Linked DNA regions of Homo sapiens: region 2 is linked to region 1. Evidence: promoter capture Hi-C in human tissues and cell types (Jung and others, 2019). All regions are on one chromosome and are shown on one strand. Each heading gives the region's core, a stretch centred on a gene start or on the middle of the fragment in contact. The rest is flanking DNA. Distances are from core to core; before and after follow the strand shown. Region 1 holds the start of PPP4R1 (protein phosphatase 4 regulatory subunit 1). Region 2 has its middle 7.6 kb from the start of LINC02856.

Region 1 (7,384 bases), core at 4,885-7,384:
TATCAATAAGGCCAGAAAGTAAGTTAAGTTTGCTCCTTAGTCTAGGGAGATAAGAAGCTAAGATGACTTAAAAGTTAGGAGAGTTAAGAAATGAATGTGGAGGAAGCAGCATTGATGATGTCACCAGCTCAAAGATCTGTGCTAAAAGCAGAGCAAGTTCCAGACCCTCTTATAGAAATTAGAGGGAATACCTCCTCAGCCAAAATTCCATAGGTGTGCCATCCAGACTTCTGCCCAAAACACTAAGTTAGGTTTATTCTCAGCTCCAATTTAAAAACAACAACACAACTCTAATTCAAATTTAGGAACTTTCAAATTCTTTTACTCCAAAATATAAAAAAAAGATGTAATACAAACATAGGAGCAAGGTAACAATAGTTTAATAAACATACATTCATTGTTTTGAGGAGACTGAGAGAAAAGGACCAGAAATAATAAACCAGAGATCAAACAAATGTGGCAGCAGACTTCTGAACTTTACCTCCTGAGGTCTATTTATCTTTCACAGGCAGGAACAAACAAAAAGTATGCATTTAGGTGTCTTGGTTTTTTATTTTTTGGAGGGGGGAGGGCAGTGGATCGTGTAGCTACAGGCCCAAGCATATTTACAAAGGGGTTTTTCTCTCTGTCTCTCTCTCTCTCTCTTTCAATTTTATGTGGGAAGTTGTTAGCAGAGGTATCATTAATTGATCCAACACACATGTGGGTACCACTGAAACCATTTTAAAAGCACTCTTTTCTAAGATATCAATGATATTATCTCTAAATAAAGATCTCTCCATCCAGGCTTGTTGGCAGCAGTCAAAACAGGCTACCAGGTCTCACGACTCACCCTCCCAAATCCCTATTTAACAATACTCCTAAATATGATTCACGTTCAAGGGCACCTTCCAAAGGTTTCTGAATGATTCCCTGGCCACTACCAGATACAGCCCCAATATTTTGCTCCTCACCTCCCACCGGAAGCAAGGACTCTAAGCTTATCAGAACTGGTTTTGAAACATGGTAGGAAGGCCTGAAGATTCTGCACAGAGTGCGGTCTAGGCGGTTACCCTCAGTTAGTTCTGGACCCATCCTTCACTCTACTTCAACACCGCCCTTAAACCCGAAAAACAGCATAATGTAAAAGGATTCCAAAACTTAAATATGAAAAAAGTCTGTTGTATGGCATACTCAATAACATAGCTTCAAAAACTTTTCAACGTCATACTTAGTTACAGCTGAGATAAAAGTTAACGACTAAATAAGCTGTCTTATACCCAAGCTCCATCCTCTCTATCATTCTCCAGGTGTAAACTAAACCACATGCAGCATCCCAGATTAATTTTCAAGGGTACTTTAAGAACGAGTTCAAAGAAATTGCCTGTACAAGTTTGGGTTGATCAATATTTTAAACTGGGCCATTTAAGAAAATATTCAAAATATGATATTTAGAATCAGAAGGCCTAGCTTAAAATTCCGTCTAAACTTAGGAGTTTTGTTTCTTTAGTCCCTTTGGGCATTAGTCAACTTACTTATTAGTATTAGAATACCACAGCCTACACATCACAGGACTGCTGTGAAGAATAACCTGTGTATGAAAGGCACTGTAAACTAAGCGTTACATAGCCATTCTTTAAAAATAACATTCTTCAACATATTACTTTGATAAAAGCTTAAGTTCTAATGAAACTCCTTCAATGAAATTATTTTTACAAGCATTGGCTCATCAAATCTTAACCGTATCTTAGTCTCATTTCATTTTAGGAATCTACCAACTTAAATGTGAATCAAAATTGCATCTTTGGAAACTAAAACAGAAATCTGAAATAATTTTTTCTAAACATCTACAATTTTGTATTGTCTCCCATTATTTAAGGAACATAATTAAATATAAAAAGTTAAAAAGGGTTTACCCAACTCTGAAATCTGCTGAGATAACCTATGTTCAAATGGAGTCACTGGTTTGCTTTCAATTTGAAATTCAAAGTATTTCATGATACAGTACTGAAAGTTTCACTTTTAAACTTAAATACATATGGTTTTTATTGCATTATTCTCCTAAACTTTTTTTTTTTGAGACGGAGTCTTGCTCTGTCGCCAGGCTGGAGTGCAGTAGCACAATCTTGGCTCACTGCAACCTCTACCTCCTGGGTTCAAGCAACTCCCCTGCCTCAGCCTCCTGAGCAGCTGCGACTACAGGTGCACGCCACCACGCCCAGTTAATTTTTTTTTGTATTTCAGTAGACATTTCACCATGTTGGCCAGGATGGTCTCGATCTCCTGACCTCGTGATCCGCCCACCTCGGCCTCCCAAAGTGCTGGGATTACAGGCATGAGCCACTGCACCCAGCCTATTCTCCTAAATTTAAGAGTACCTGATAATGATTTCATTTACTTACCTTTATAAGTTACTTGATAAAAGTTTAAGTTCTAATGAAACTCCTTCAATGAAATTATGTGTACACACACACACACACACACACACACACAAATACCATCCATTTTTCCCTCATTAGGATTTTTTTTCCTCCAAAGGTTATCAGTCAAGTCAGTCTTTGACCAACCTTTTCCCCGACTCTGTGCCTCTGTACAGAGACGGGATTAAAACAAATCAAATCGAAAGACCTGAGACTCTTAGCAATGTCTGGCAATGCCCCTCTTTCAAGTCCTAGACTCCAGCTAGGTCCTTTCCTAGATCATCTGCACAACAGAACTTACTGTCTCTTCCCTCATAGTCCAGGTTCTGCATTTAGGAAGGTCAACCAAGATTCTAGAGCTTGACCAGAAAACAATTTCTTCCCATCCCAAGGGCCAACTTACACCTAGCTTGGCTGAAGTAGTAGGACTTGTTTACAACTACTCTGGAGGTTGGGCTCCATACTCTGGAGTTTTACCATAGACAGAGAAACTCAGGCTCACGAGATAACAACCGTGTTATAAGGGCAGCCCAAGCTCCGTTCCTCTACCTTTGGGTCCTCTACCTTCTCCAGCTTCTCCAGGATGTGACAGCTGTCTCAGTCCTTTACCAACCATCTTGCTCTCTAAGGAGGCACCATGGCCCAGTGTTCCCCCTCATTCTTTCTCCCTTCACAAGAGATGGGAAGTGGTCCTTCAACTGGCCATATGTCCAAAAGTCCTTTGTTCCTGAATATTCTGGGTAAAGGTATCACCTGTAAAAACTTTAGTAACTGAGAAAAATAAGCAATTACTCTAACAAAGCCTTCAACCAAATTATGAATATGCAAATAACTATTGTGCCTTCAATGTCTGTTTTATCCTAAATTAAAATGCACAGGAAACAGAATCTTTAAAAAGTTAGTTGCAGCCGGGCGCAGTGGCTCACGCCTGTAATCCCAGCACTTTGGGAGGCCAAGGCAGGTGGATCACCTGAGGTCGGGAGTTCGAGACCAGCCTGATCAACATGGAGAAACCCCGTCTCTACTAAAAGTACAAAATTAGCCAGGCGTGGTGGCACACGCCTGTAATCCCAGTTACTTGGGAGGCTGAGGCAGGAGAATCACTTGAACCCGGGAGGCAGAGGTTGCGGTGAGCCGAGATCGCGCCATTTTGCACTCCAGCCTGGGCAACAAGAGTGAAACTCCATCTCAAAAAAAAAAAAAATTTAGTTGCGAGCATTGGCAGCATCTTTAAGTACCTTCATTCTGTAAGGTTCAACATCAGTGTTTCCTTCTCTGCTCTTCTTTTAAGCTTCCCTTGCTCTTTTCTCATAACAGCAAACATAATCATAATCATCGCTGTTTACCAGGAATTGTTCCAAGTGCTTCAGAGGCACTAACTCATGTACAGCCTTGAACAACTCTATGAAGTAGGTAATATTTCTTATGCCTACTTACAAATGACAAAACTGAGGCATAGGGAGGTTAAGTGAGTTGCCCAAGTCTGCCCAAAAAGACACTGCTAAGACAAACAGAGCAGCCTGGCTCCAGTGGTAACTGTAATACTGTACTGTACACCTAGATTCAAAACTGCTTGTAAACCACTAGAGGGCATGGGTTGTGCCCATCTTTCTCAAAGCTCCATCCCCAGTACCTGGCAGAGTGTTGAAACTCATGGTTGAATTTTTCACAGGTATGCCTTCCCCTCTACACTGTGCTTCTTGGGGGCTAAGGAAGAAACTGAGACTGCATTTCATCCTTCAGGAGTGAGAAGTTTTTGCTCCAGTCATAAATACTTGCTGAATAAATGAATCTTCTATTTACGAAGTCGAACATAAATATAAAAAGCCCTCCTCGAGGTAACATAATCAGGGCCATTTCTCCAATCCTAACCTGGCAAGAGATCTGAAATCAACAGATGCCTTAAATAATATCTCAAACTTACTATTAGGCAGATAAGTGGCTTAAGGTAAACATTAAATAAAATGTTAAAGCTGCCCTTCACTACATGAGTACTGCTCCCTTTAAGAGAGCTGTTTTGAGCCACCTCACTAAAAACACAGACTTAGCAAAAGTTTGGATGTGGTTCATTTACTTTAAAGATAAATTACTCGTTTCAGATAATCCATCTAAATAGTAAATCCCCCTTACTTTACTCAAAACAACCAGGAATCTAAAAATTAAGTTTACTCTGAGTAAGGGAACCACATTAGACAATGCTAAGGATTAACTACAGAGTATTTAAAAGAGTAATTTCAAACTGCAGCCATCTCTGAAATTACTTATACAGGTACTAGACAGTCAATCTCAGCATCCGGTAGGCTTTCCACTAAACAGACCACAATCCTACTATGGTTATCATCTCAACTCAGAACAATTTCTTGGTCCCTTATGTATCCCATGATCTTCGCTTATATATTTTGCACACTCTGCATTTTTAAAATGCATCTCAAAACCTATTGATTTTTTGATGGGTCGCTATTTTGGAAGATTAGCAAGAATAGAAACTATTTTAAGTTAACTGCAATTTGTCACTTCTTTCAATACAAACCTGCTTAACTCTTTTGTCTTTTCTATCGTGACCCAAATTATTTTCTGAGGCTTAGAAAAGTACATATAAGACGAAAAATTCCTTTCTAAATATCAATTCCGTCGCCATCAGGAAATGTCAGAAACTTTGTCTTTTTAAAAATAAAAGCGTCAACTCTTTAAAAACTTCAGTACCTCAAAGGAAAGCTGCACTGTTAACACTGAAGGAGGGCTGGGTGATTTCTGAACATCCGCATTAAAGAAATATGCTCTCCAAACCTAGTAATTCCTGCGGAGGCCACACCTTCTAACCTTCTCGTAATCCACTAATCAAATCGGGAGCATCTGAAAACTGCTACCAGCCAAAGTAAAATGACAGGTATGTCATCCTCAAACAATCCAAAACCGGGTCGGGGAGCCCAGACGGCTAGCCGGGGCCCAGGCTGACCCCCGGGCGCTCCTGGAAGAGCGACTCTAAGGAAACACACCTCCCGCGCGAGCCTCTTCCTTCCTAGAGTGACGGGGGAAGGGGACACCAGGGGCAGAAACACACCCAAACCCCACTTCAAATCCTGCCCCACCGCTTCTCCTTCCAAAACAGCCGCGCCACTGCTGAGCCCGCAGGCGATTCGGGGGCGCCGGGAGAAGAGAGCGAAGGGCGGAAAGCGAACTTGGGCGTTACTCCGGGCGTCTCCCTCCCCCAGCGGAACCTGGGCGCGCCGTTTCCTCACGGACGCGAGATTTTCCCCCCCGATCGCCACCCCAGCCCGCCTGGGGCCGCCCTCGCCCACCGTCCCCTCAGCCAGCCAGGGCCCGGCCCAGGCCTCGCCGCCGCCCGCCCTCCCCGGCCGCTCCCCGCGGACTGCCAGGCCACCGCGAGGCCGGGCCACTCACATCCGTCTGCGTCCTCCTGCAGGTCCTCCTGAAGCAGCGAGAGGTCTGCGCCGAGGGGAGAGAAGAAAGGCCCGGTCAGCGCCCCGGGGCCCGGCGCGACGCCCCCCCCCCGCCCGCCTCCCCCCCGCCCCGGGGGCGCCTTCCCGCGCCGGGACCCCACGCCGGCCCCGGCCCGGCAGCCACTCAGGGCTGCGGCGGAGGGCGGGTGGGCTCGAGGAGCCGCCGCCGCCCGGAGAACAGGGGGCCACGTACCCGCCATCTTGTGGTCGCCCCCTCCTCCGCGGCCGCCCGGGGAGCCGGGGCTACATGGAGCGGCGCGAGCCGGGGAGCCGGTGGACGCGCGCGGGAGGGGCGGCGGGGAGGAGGAGGGCCGGGCTGGCGGGGGCGCGCGCGCGGGGCGGGCCGAGGGCCCGGGCCTGCCGCGGGCGGCGCGGCTCCCGGCCGCCCGGGCCCCCGGCCGCGCCCCGCCCCGCCCCGCCTGCCCCTCCGCGCGGCTCCCGGGCGACCGGCGCTCCCGCCTCCCGCCTTTCCCGCTGCTTGCCGGGTCCCGGCCCGGCGACGCGCGCTCACACCCTCCTCCCGAGCCGCCCTCACGCCGAGCGCTGCGGACGGGGGCGCGCAACCTGCCGCCGGCCGGGACCCTGCGGCGAGTGCCGGAACCCGGCCGGGCGGGGCCTCCCGCGGCCCGGCCGCTTTATTGGGTCACCGGCCTCGCCCACCGCCCTGCCAGCCGCAGCCATCTCGGCGGGCGCGCCGCTCGCAGCCAGCGCCCCATCCCCAGGCCTGCACGTACGTCGTCGGCGATCCGGGGCCGGGGGCGGCTCCGAGGTCGTCGGGGCCGGGGTCCCACCTCCTCTTGGAGGAAGCGCCGCCTCCCCACCCGCCCGGGGCCCTCGCCAAGTGGCTGCTAACAAAGCCCAGGGCCCGGCTGCGGGATGGTTGACTGACAAAGTCATGCCTGCCTAGCCAGCTTCCTCGTGCAGCACGGTGAAGGCTGGGGCGCCGGGTTTTTACTCCCACGTCCTGCCAACTCGAGCTGACAAGGCGGGCAATCCACCAGCGGGAGCGTTGGCAGGCCCGGGGTCAGATCCTGATTCAGCCAGTTAATTGGTAGGAGTGGGGCCCATTTGTAGAATGAAGGTGATAACTGCCTCGTGGGGTTATTGGCATTAAATGAAGAATGTAGGGAACCTAGCATGGTTCTTGATGTCTAGGAGGTGCTCGGTGAAGGGTGCCTATGATTCGCTTTGTCTTCTAAATACTTTTGGCAGCACTTGAGGTGTTAAAGTCTGTATCCCAGACTTTATTAGTCTTGTTGTTTTACGTGACTTAAGCGATTAGCTCAAACGCCCAAGTACAAAATGGGGCTAAACCCAGGTTTTCCGACACGATTCTACCTCCATGGCTCTATCTCCAGCTCCACCCAAGGCCTCCAAAATGGTGTTCTCCTAAAGTGACCAACAAAACACCAAGCTGTGTCATGGTGCCACTTTGGCGATGTGGTCTCTTAGGAGAGGGAATTCTAAGTAGTTAATTAGCTTGTTCCTTTCTACGTTGTAGTCTTGACCAAGGACAATGTGTTG
Region 2 (7,384 bases), core at 3,178-5,677, 40 kb after region 1:
TTTTTTTTTTTTTAAACAAAGTCTTGCTCTGTCGCTCAGGCTGGAGTGCAGTGGTGCGATCTTGGCTCACTGCAACCTCCACCTCCCGGGTTTAAGGGATTCTCCTGCCTCAGCCTCCCGTGTAGCTGGGACTACAGGCGCCCGCCACCATGCCTGGCTAATTTTTTGTAGCTTTTGCCAGTTTTATAGAAATATAAGTCTGTGTGAACATATTGCTAGGGCTCCTCCCAGGGCCCCACAGAGGTCTCAGCAAGTGAGAGACTCTTGTCAGTCTTCATTAACTTTCTAGAAAATCCACATCTGGATCTCCAAAATTTGAAATGCTTGGAGAACAGACATCTATTTATTCTTTGTCCTTCACTAAAATACGGTGACTCCCAAGTGTTTTGTATTAGGGAGAAAAGGGACTAGGTTCCGACAGCCAACTCCTTTGCCGTCCCTGGGGTAGAGGGAAAAGGGGAGGAGAGAGGAGGAGGAAGGGAGACTGGGGTGAGCATGAGGCCTGGTGTAGTCAATCATAGCACAGGCATAGGAGCCAAAGGGACCTGGGCTGGTATTCCAGAATTTTCCAGAATTGATCTAGGACAAGTGACTCCACGTTTTCAAGCCTGGGATTTCGCATTTATAAAAAGTTGGTAATAATGCCAATTTCAGGGTGCAGTTTCAATAAAAGAATATGTCTAAAACACCTAGCATAGGTTGGGTACAGTAGCTCTCACCTGTAATCCCAGCACTTTGGGAGGCCGAGGTAGGCGAGGTGGATCACCTGAGGACAGGAGTTCAAGACCAGCCTGGCCAACATGGTGAAACCCCGTCTCTACTAAAAATACAAAAATTAGCTGAACGTGGTGGTGCATGCCTATAATCCCAGCTGCTCAGGAGGCTGAGGCAGGAGAATCACTTGAACCTGGGAAGTGGACGTTGCAGTGAGCCAAGATTGTGCCACTGCACTCCAGCCTGGGTGACAGAGTGAGACTCCATCTCCAAAACAATAAAAATAAAAGTAAAAAATAAAAATAAAATAAAATACCTAGCATAGTCCCCTGCTCCCTGCAAATGTTTAACAATGCGCAGGGACAAGATGTCTGGAGACTGTGATCCTACCTATGGAAAACAGCTTTGCAAAACTTCACTTTCCTGCCTGTAACTTTAGTTCATTTATCTCTACACCCGAAAAGAAGAAGAGACTGCAAGAAATGTTGGTGTTGGAAAGGACATCAAGCATTACGGAGAGGACGGATATAAGTCTGTGTAAGTCTTTTGTAAGTGGTAAAATTCAACGCAAATGGGAATTTGTGTTGATGTCAGCTTGACTGTAGAGATGGTGCATAGGTTTTCAGCTGCTAGCCAGGTATAGTGTTTCCAAAGGATAAAGGTAATCAGATTGCTGGAGAACAGGGACTAGAAAAGCAGGTCAGCTGAAATAACTTAGTGTGGGTATTTTTACTAAAAATTGGTCAAATAGAATCCTTTTAGAGACAAATACTGAAATATTTACAGGTGAAGTGATGTGCTGGGAGTTGTTTCCCCAGGGGGCAAGTGGTTGAGGATACTGACAAAGGTGGCCATCTCACTTCTTTGGTATATGTCTGCAATTTTCAAAGTAAAGTTTTAAAAATGATCAGATAGATAAAATCATTTATTCTATCATCAAGCAAATGTCAAGATATGTCCTTTGCTGTGACCCCCACCCACCCACCTGCCAAACTAACCTCACTGGCATTCCTTAATCCCTCTGATGCAGTCCTGCCTCTGTGCCCTAGGAACGCTGTTGACTCAGCAGGAGGCATCTTGGCTGATGTAGAGGTTCCCTTACTTTGAAGGTGTCCTTGTTGGGGTGCCCTTGTCTGCTGTCATTATCCTCTTCTAGTTCCTGCCCCTACCTTGAGCTTCAGGACTCCTGTATGACCTGGTTCTTTTTTTTTTTTTTTTTTTTTGAGACAGAGTCTTGCTCTGTTGCCCAGGCTGGAGTGCAGTGGCATGATCTCGGCTCACTGCAACCTCCATCTCCTAGGTTCAAGCAATTCTTCTGCCTCAGCCTCCCCAGTAGCTTGGACTACAGGTGCCCGCCACCACGCCTAGGTAATTTTTTGTATTTTTAGTAGAGACAGGGTTTCACTGTGTTAGCCAGGATGGTCTCAATCTCCTGACCTCGTGATCTGCCCATGTCAGCCTCCCAAGGTGCTGGGATTACAGGCGTGAGCCACCGTGCCGGCCTGACCTCCTTCTTGACTCATAGTCTTTATCCGACCTCCCATACCTGCTTGGCCAGATGCATTGCAGAGGACTTACTACCCATGTGCTTCTGGTCTTCTGACTTCTCCCTTGAATACGGAATCTGGCAATTAAGCAACTCCCAGGTTCAACCCAATTTCATGCTTGGTGCATAATTCCCACCCTCCCCTGACAAGTCTCCATGATTAACTGGAGCTCACAGTTCACAGTGACTCTGAAGGAGAAAAAAAACAATTGCGCATTTTCAACTCACAAGAATAACGTGCATTTCATTTCTTTGTAGTTTTATTCTGGAATTTTTAATTTACTATTTCTTTTGCTTTGAATGTATCAATTTCCAGTCATCTTAATGAACTCATTATAGTAAATCTCTGAAGCATTTTATTTTACTTCACTTTTAAAAATTTGTATATTTTTCCTTTTGTTTGTATTTTTTATTATCATAGTAATCTAGACTCTGACATTAGAATACACAGTATCTATTAATTTCCTATTGCTTCTGTTAAAAATTACCACAAACATAGTGGCTTAAAGTAAAATGCATTTATCCTCCTACAGTTCTGGAGGCCAGAAGTCTGGAATGGGTCTCTCTGAGCTAAAGCCAAGGTGCGGGCAGGGCTGAGCTCACTCTGGAGGCTCAGGGGAGAATCTGTCTCCTTGCCTTCTTCTGGAGGCCACCTGCATCCCTTGGCTGGTGGTCCCTTCCTCTATCTTCAAAATCAGCAGTGCAGCATCTTCCAGTCTCCCTCTGCCTCTGACCTGTTTCATCTGCCCACCTTCCACTTTAAAAGACTCTTGAGATTCCACTAGGCCAACATAGTCCAGGATAATCTCCTGTTTTACAGTCAGCTGATTGGCAACCTTAATTCCGTCTGTGACTTTAATGCTTCCTTGCCATGCAACATATACACAGATTCCAGGGATTAGCATGTGGACATTTCTGGAGGCCATTATTCTACCTGCCACACAGCATATTAGAGATTGAATGTCGTTTTTAAGAATATCCAGGGCGAAATATATCCCAAGCATGAAGTGGTTGATTTAATAAGAACCATACAAGGGACTGGATGCTGTTCAGTGAAATTTGTCTAAGTAAACTGGCAACTGAAGCACTCATGCTCCTAGCACCATCAGTTTACAGCTTAGCTTTTCCACAGGCTCCAGATTTCTGGCTACCCAGGAAGCTCCCTTGTTGATCTGGGGTGGACTCCTGATCCTTGTGATGCTGCCTCTCGGGTAACAGACTCAATGTTATACACTTGGAAGTCACTGCTGTTGACCCGGCACAACCCTGGCCTTGTTCTCCACTCAGCCCCAGGGCACCAGCTGTGCCACACAAGACCATGTGTCCAAGGGATGTGGCCTCAGCGTCCAACACAAACATGGCCACTGGCATTGTGCCAGGTGCAGGAGACAGACAGCAGAGACAAGAATTCTAACGCTGGAAGGGAATTTAGAAATTGTCTTGTATTTATTTATTTATTTATTTATTTTGCAGTTTATCTTACAGATGAAGAAAATGAGGCCTCGTGATGCTGAGTAATTTTTAAAAGACATACAGGCGGTGTCAGAGCACTAGACCGGAAGCAGGTTTTTTTTTTTTTTTTTTTTTTTTTGAGACAAGGTCTGGCTCTGTTGCCCAGGCTGGAGTGCAGTGGTGCAATCTCGGCTCAAGTGATTCTGCCACTTCAGCCTCCCCAGTAGCTGGAACTACAGGTGCACATCACCACACCCGGGTATTTTTTTTTTTTTGTAGAGATGGGGCTTTCACCACGTTGGCCTGGCTGGTCTCAAACTCCTGACCTCAAGTGATTCACCCACCTTGACCTCCCAAAGGGCTGGGATTACCGCTGTGAGCCACTGCACCTGGCTCGGAAGCAGATCTTTGAGGGGCCAAATGGAACCTACCCTGGTTTCTTTCCAAATCGTCACTGGTAACATTTATAATTCTTTTGCAACAATAGTTTTTTGTTTTGTTTTGTTTTGCTTTGCTTTTCTGAGACAGAGCCTTGCTCCGTTGCCCAGGCTGGAGGGCAGTGGTATAATCTCGGCTTACTGCAACCTCCACGCCCCCCTGGGTTTAAGCAATTCTCCTGCCTCAGCCTCTGGAGTAGCTGGGATTACAGGCGTATGCCACCATGTCCGGCTAATTTTTGTATTTTTAGTAGAGACGGGGTTTCACCGTGTTGGTCAGGCTGGTCTCGAACTCCTGACCTTGTGATCCGCCCACCTCAGCCTCCCAAAGTGCTGGGATTACAGGTGTGAGCCACTGTGCCTGGCCAACAGTAGTTGTTTTCAACAAGGTCAATGTCTCTTACGTGTTGCAAGGCTAGAGTCCGTGATAATAAAGAATGAAAGTCCTTTGTTTCAAAAGTATAAGCAAGATAAGATGTAGTAAAATAAAATAAAGTAACACAGTGAAGATAATGGTTAAGGCTGCATTCAAAATAAGCCACTATCCTGTGCTCAGCGAAGCTCAGGTAGTGCCATGTCCTAATTGCTCCCAGATAAGATAGTGGGGGCAAACAGGGGTGCATCCTTCCCCCTAGATCCCAGGATGAGGGGCGAAACTCACTGCTCCCAGCCTACCAGTCCCAGAACCCAATGACATGCAGGCCCCTTGCTTGAGGGAAGGACTGTACAAGCACTTTTCCCAGGCCCTTGTTCTTCCCAAATCGCAACAAAAGGGGAAAAAAAATGATGTGCTTCCTTTGTGACATTTCTGAAGGAACAATTAGTGTTACAACTCATCTTCTTAAATCTTGTATTTAATTGTGAGGCATTCTCCCTATTGGGGAATGACAGTTTGACTCATCAACATTTTGTCAGTCAGTTCTCCCGTGATCAGACATCTGTGTAAGCTGCACAACGTATAAAGAGAAATGTTTCCTGAATAAAGGACATTCAGTTGATTTATGCATTTTTAATTCATAAAAATGATGCCTGTTTGAACAATGATTCATTTTCTGTATTAATACAAAAATGAATTCTGACAAATGGGAGTCAGATGGAGAAATTATGTGGGCTGTTTAATTCAGTTTTACAGTGTTTGACCTTGATATTCTAATTCATTGCCACATAACAGGAGCTTTCATGGGAGGTACTGATTTATTACTATTATTTTTCTTCCATTTCCTTTTTTTTCCTTTCTTTCTTTATAGGAGTCCTGAAACAATACTAGAGAGTTATTTTTAAAACATAGCTCTTTATGTATGTCTGATCAACAGCAAAGTAATTTAGAATTTTAAATAAAGTAAATTTGAGGGTCCTTATAAACCTCACCATGGAAACCAGAGAGTGAATTGTTGCCATGGAGACATTTGTAAGTCCACTATGCCTGGAGTTATTATTACCATATACAGTTGGCCCTTTGTATCTGTGGGTTCTACATCTGTGAATTCAACCAACCATAGATTGAAAATATTTAAGAAAAATCTTCCAAAAATTTTCAGAAAGCAAAACTTGAATTTGCCACACCAAATACTACGTTAACTCCATGAGAATGAAGTGATGTCTAGGCATTGCATTAGGTATTATAAGTAATCTAGAGATGACGTAAAGTGTACGGGAGGTTATAAAGTGTACATAGGTTATATACAAATACTACGACATTTTATATCAGGGACTTGAGCATCCTCAGATTTTGGGTTACCTATTGGAATCAATCTCCCATGGATACTGAGAGATAATTGTATTCACATACTAGCATGAATCAGGTACGTTATGTAAAGCATTTTAAGTTCCTCGCTGAAAGCATGGTGATGAATGAAATTAATATGAAACCCTTCAAAGCACCAACGTCTCCTCATCCTTGGTACAGAAGAAGAAGAACCCCACAGTTCCCAGGCTTCATCCCCAGATCCCTGATTCAGTCTGGAATGGAGGTGGGGTGTGTGTGTATATATATATATATATATATATATATATTTTTTTTTTTTTTTTTTGAGGCAGAGTCTGGCTCTGTCACCCAGGCTGGAGTGAAGTGGCATGATCTTGGCTCACTGCAACCTCCGCCTCCTAGGTTCAAGATATGAGAATTGAACTTAAATGCTTAAGAAAGAACTAGGTTTTTATGAATTTTAATTAATTGCATGTTAATTTTTAAAGTCAAAGGAAATCCCTGACAGATCAACAAGAATTCTGATTTAACCGAGACAAGGCTGGGACACAATTCCTGACAACCAATTCCCCAGAAATTCTTGTTTGTAAGTCAGGGGAGAAACTCACACTGCACAGGCCTCAGAGTCACGTGAGAAGCCTGTTTAAAATATAGACACCCATCCTGGATAACATAGTGAAAACCCGTCTCTACTAAAAATACAAAAAATTAGCCAGGTGTGCTGGCAGGCGCCTGTAGTCCCAGCTACTCGGGAGGCTGAGGCAGGAGAATGGCGTGAACCCGGGAGGCAGAGGTTGCAGTGAGCCGAGATCATGCCACTGCACTCCAGCCTGGGCAACAGAGCAAGACTCCATCTCAAAAAAAAAAATTTTATATATATATATATATATATAGAGAGAGAGAGAGAGAGAGAGAGAGAGAGAGAGAGAGAGAGAGAGACACCCAGGGCCAGGCACAGTGGCTCACGCCTGTAATCCCAGCACTTTGGGACGCCAAGGCAGGTGGATCTCTTTGAGGCCAGGAGTTCGAGACCAGCCTGGGCAACATGGTGAAATCCCGTCTCTACTAAAAAATACAAAAATTAGCCAGGTGTGGTGGCGCACACTTGTAATCCCAGTTACTTGGGAGGCTGAGGCAGGAGAATCACTTGAACCTGGGAGGCGGCGGTTGCTGTGAGCCAAGATCGCACCATTGCACTCCAGCCTGGGTGAGAAGAATGAGAATCCATCTCAAAAAAAAAAAAAGAAAACATGCAATGCGTATGCTTTTGTGTTGGCTTCTTTCACTCCACATAATTCCTGTGAGATGCACTCAAGTTTTTGTGTATTGGCAATTGATTCCCTTTTATTGTTTGTAGTATTCCATTTTGTGAATAGACACAATTTATTTGTCTATTCTTCCACTGGTGGACATATGGATAGTTTCCTGTTTTCATTTTATTTTTTTTTTATTTTTAAAAAGTAGAGATGGGGTCTCACTATGTTGCCCAGGCTAGTCTTGAACTCGTGGACTCAAATGGTCCTCCTGCCT

Evidence for each region. The method cuts DNA at HindIII sites, captures the fragments that hold promoters and counts their contacts. A contact is called where the count stands out against the background at its distance.
Region 2: a contact is called between a fragment that was not itself captured here and the fragment with the promoter of PPP4R1 in region 1, in 1 of the 25 tissues and cell types used here (IMR-90 fibroblasts).

The regions. Positions count from the first base shown.
Region 1 is chr18:9,608,425-9,615,808 of GRCh38, forward strand. It overlaps PPP4R1 (protein phosphatase 4 regulatory subunit 1), which reads right to left and starts at 6,135. Exons shown (of 20, transcript NM_001042388.3): 1 at 6,054-6,135; 2 at 5,802-5,846. The coding sequence starts at 6,060. It overlaps PPP4R1-AS1 (PPP4R1 antisense RNA 1), which reads left to right and starts at 6,383. Exons shown (of 3, transcript NR_110773.1): 1 at 6,383-6,590. RefSeq lists an enhancer at 5,252-5,331 and silencers at 5,602-5,851, 5,952-6,221, 6,322-6,831. The HindIII fragment of the contact is 9,629 bases long and covers 2,673-7,384 here.
Region 2 is chr18:9,650,025-9,657,408 of GRCh38, forward strand. No RefSeq gene overlaps it. Among named protein-coding and RNA genes, the nearest start is that of LINC02856, 7.6 kb to the left of the region's middle. The HindIII fragment of the contact is 9,508 bases long and covers 1-7,384 here.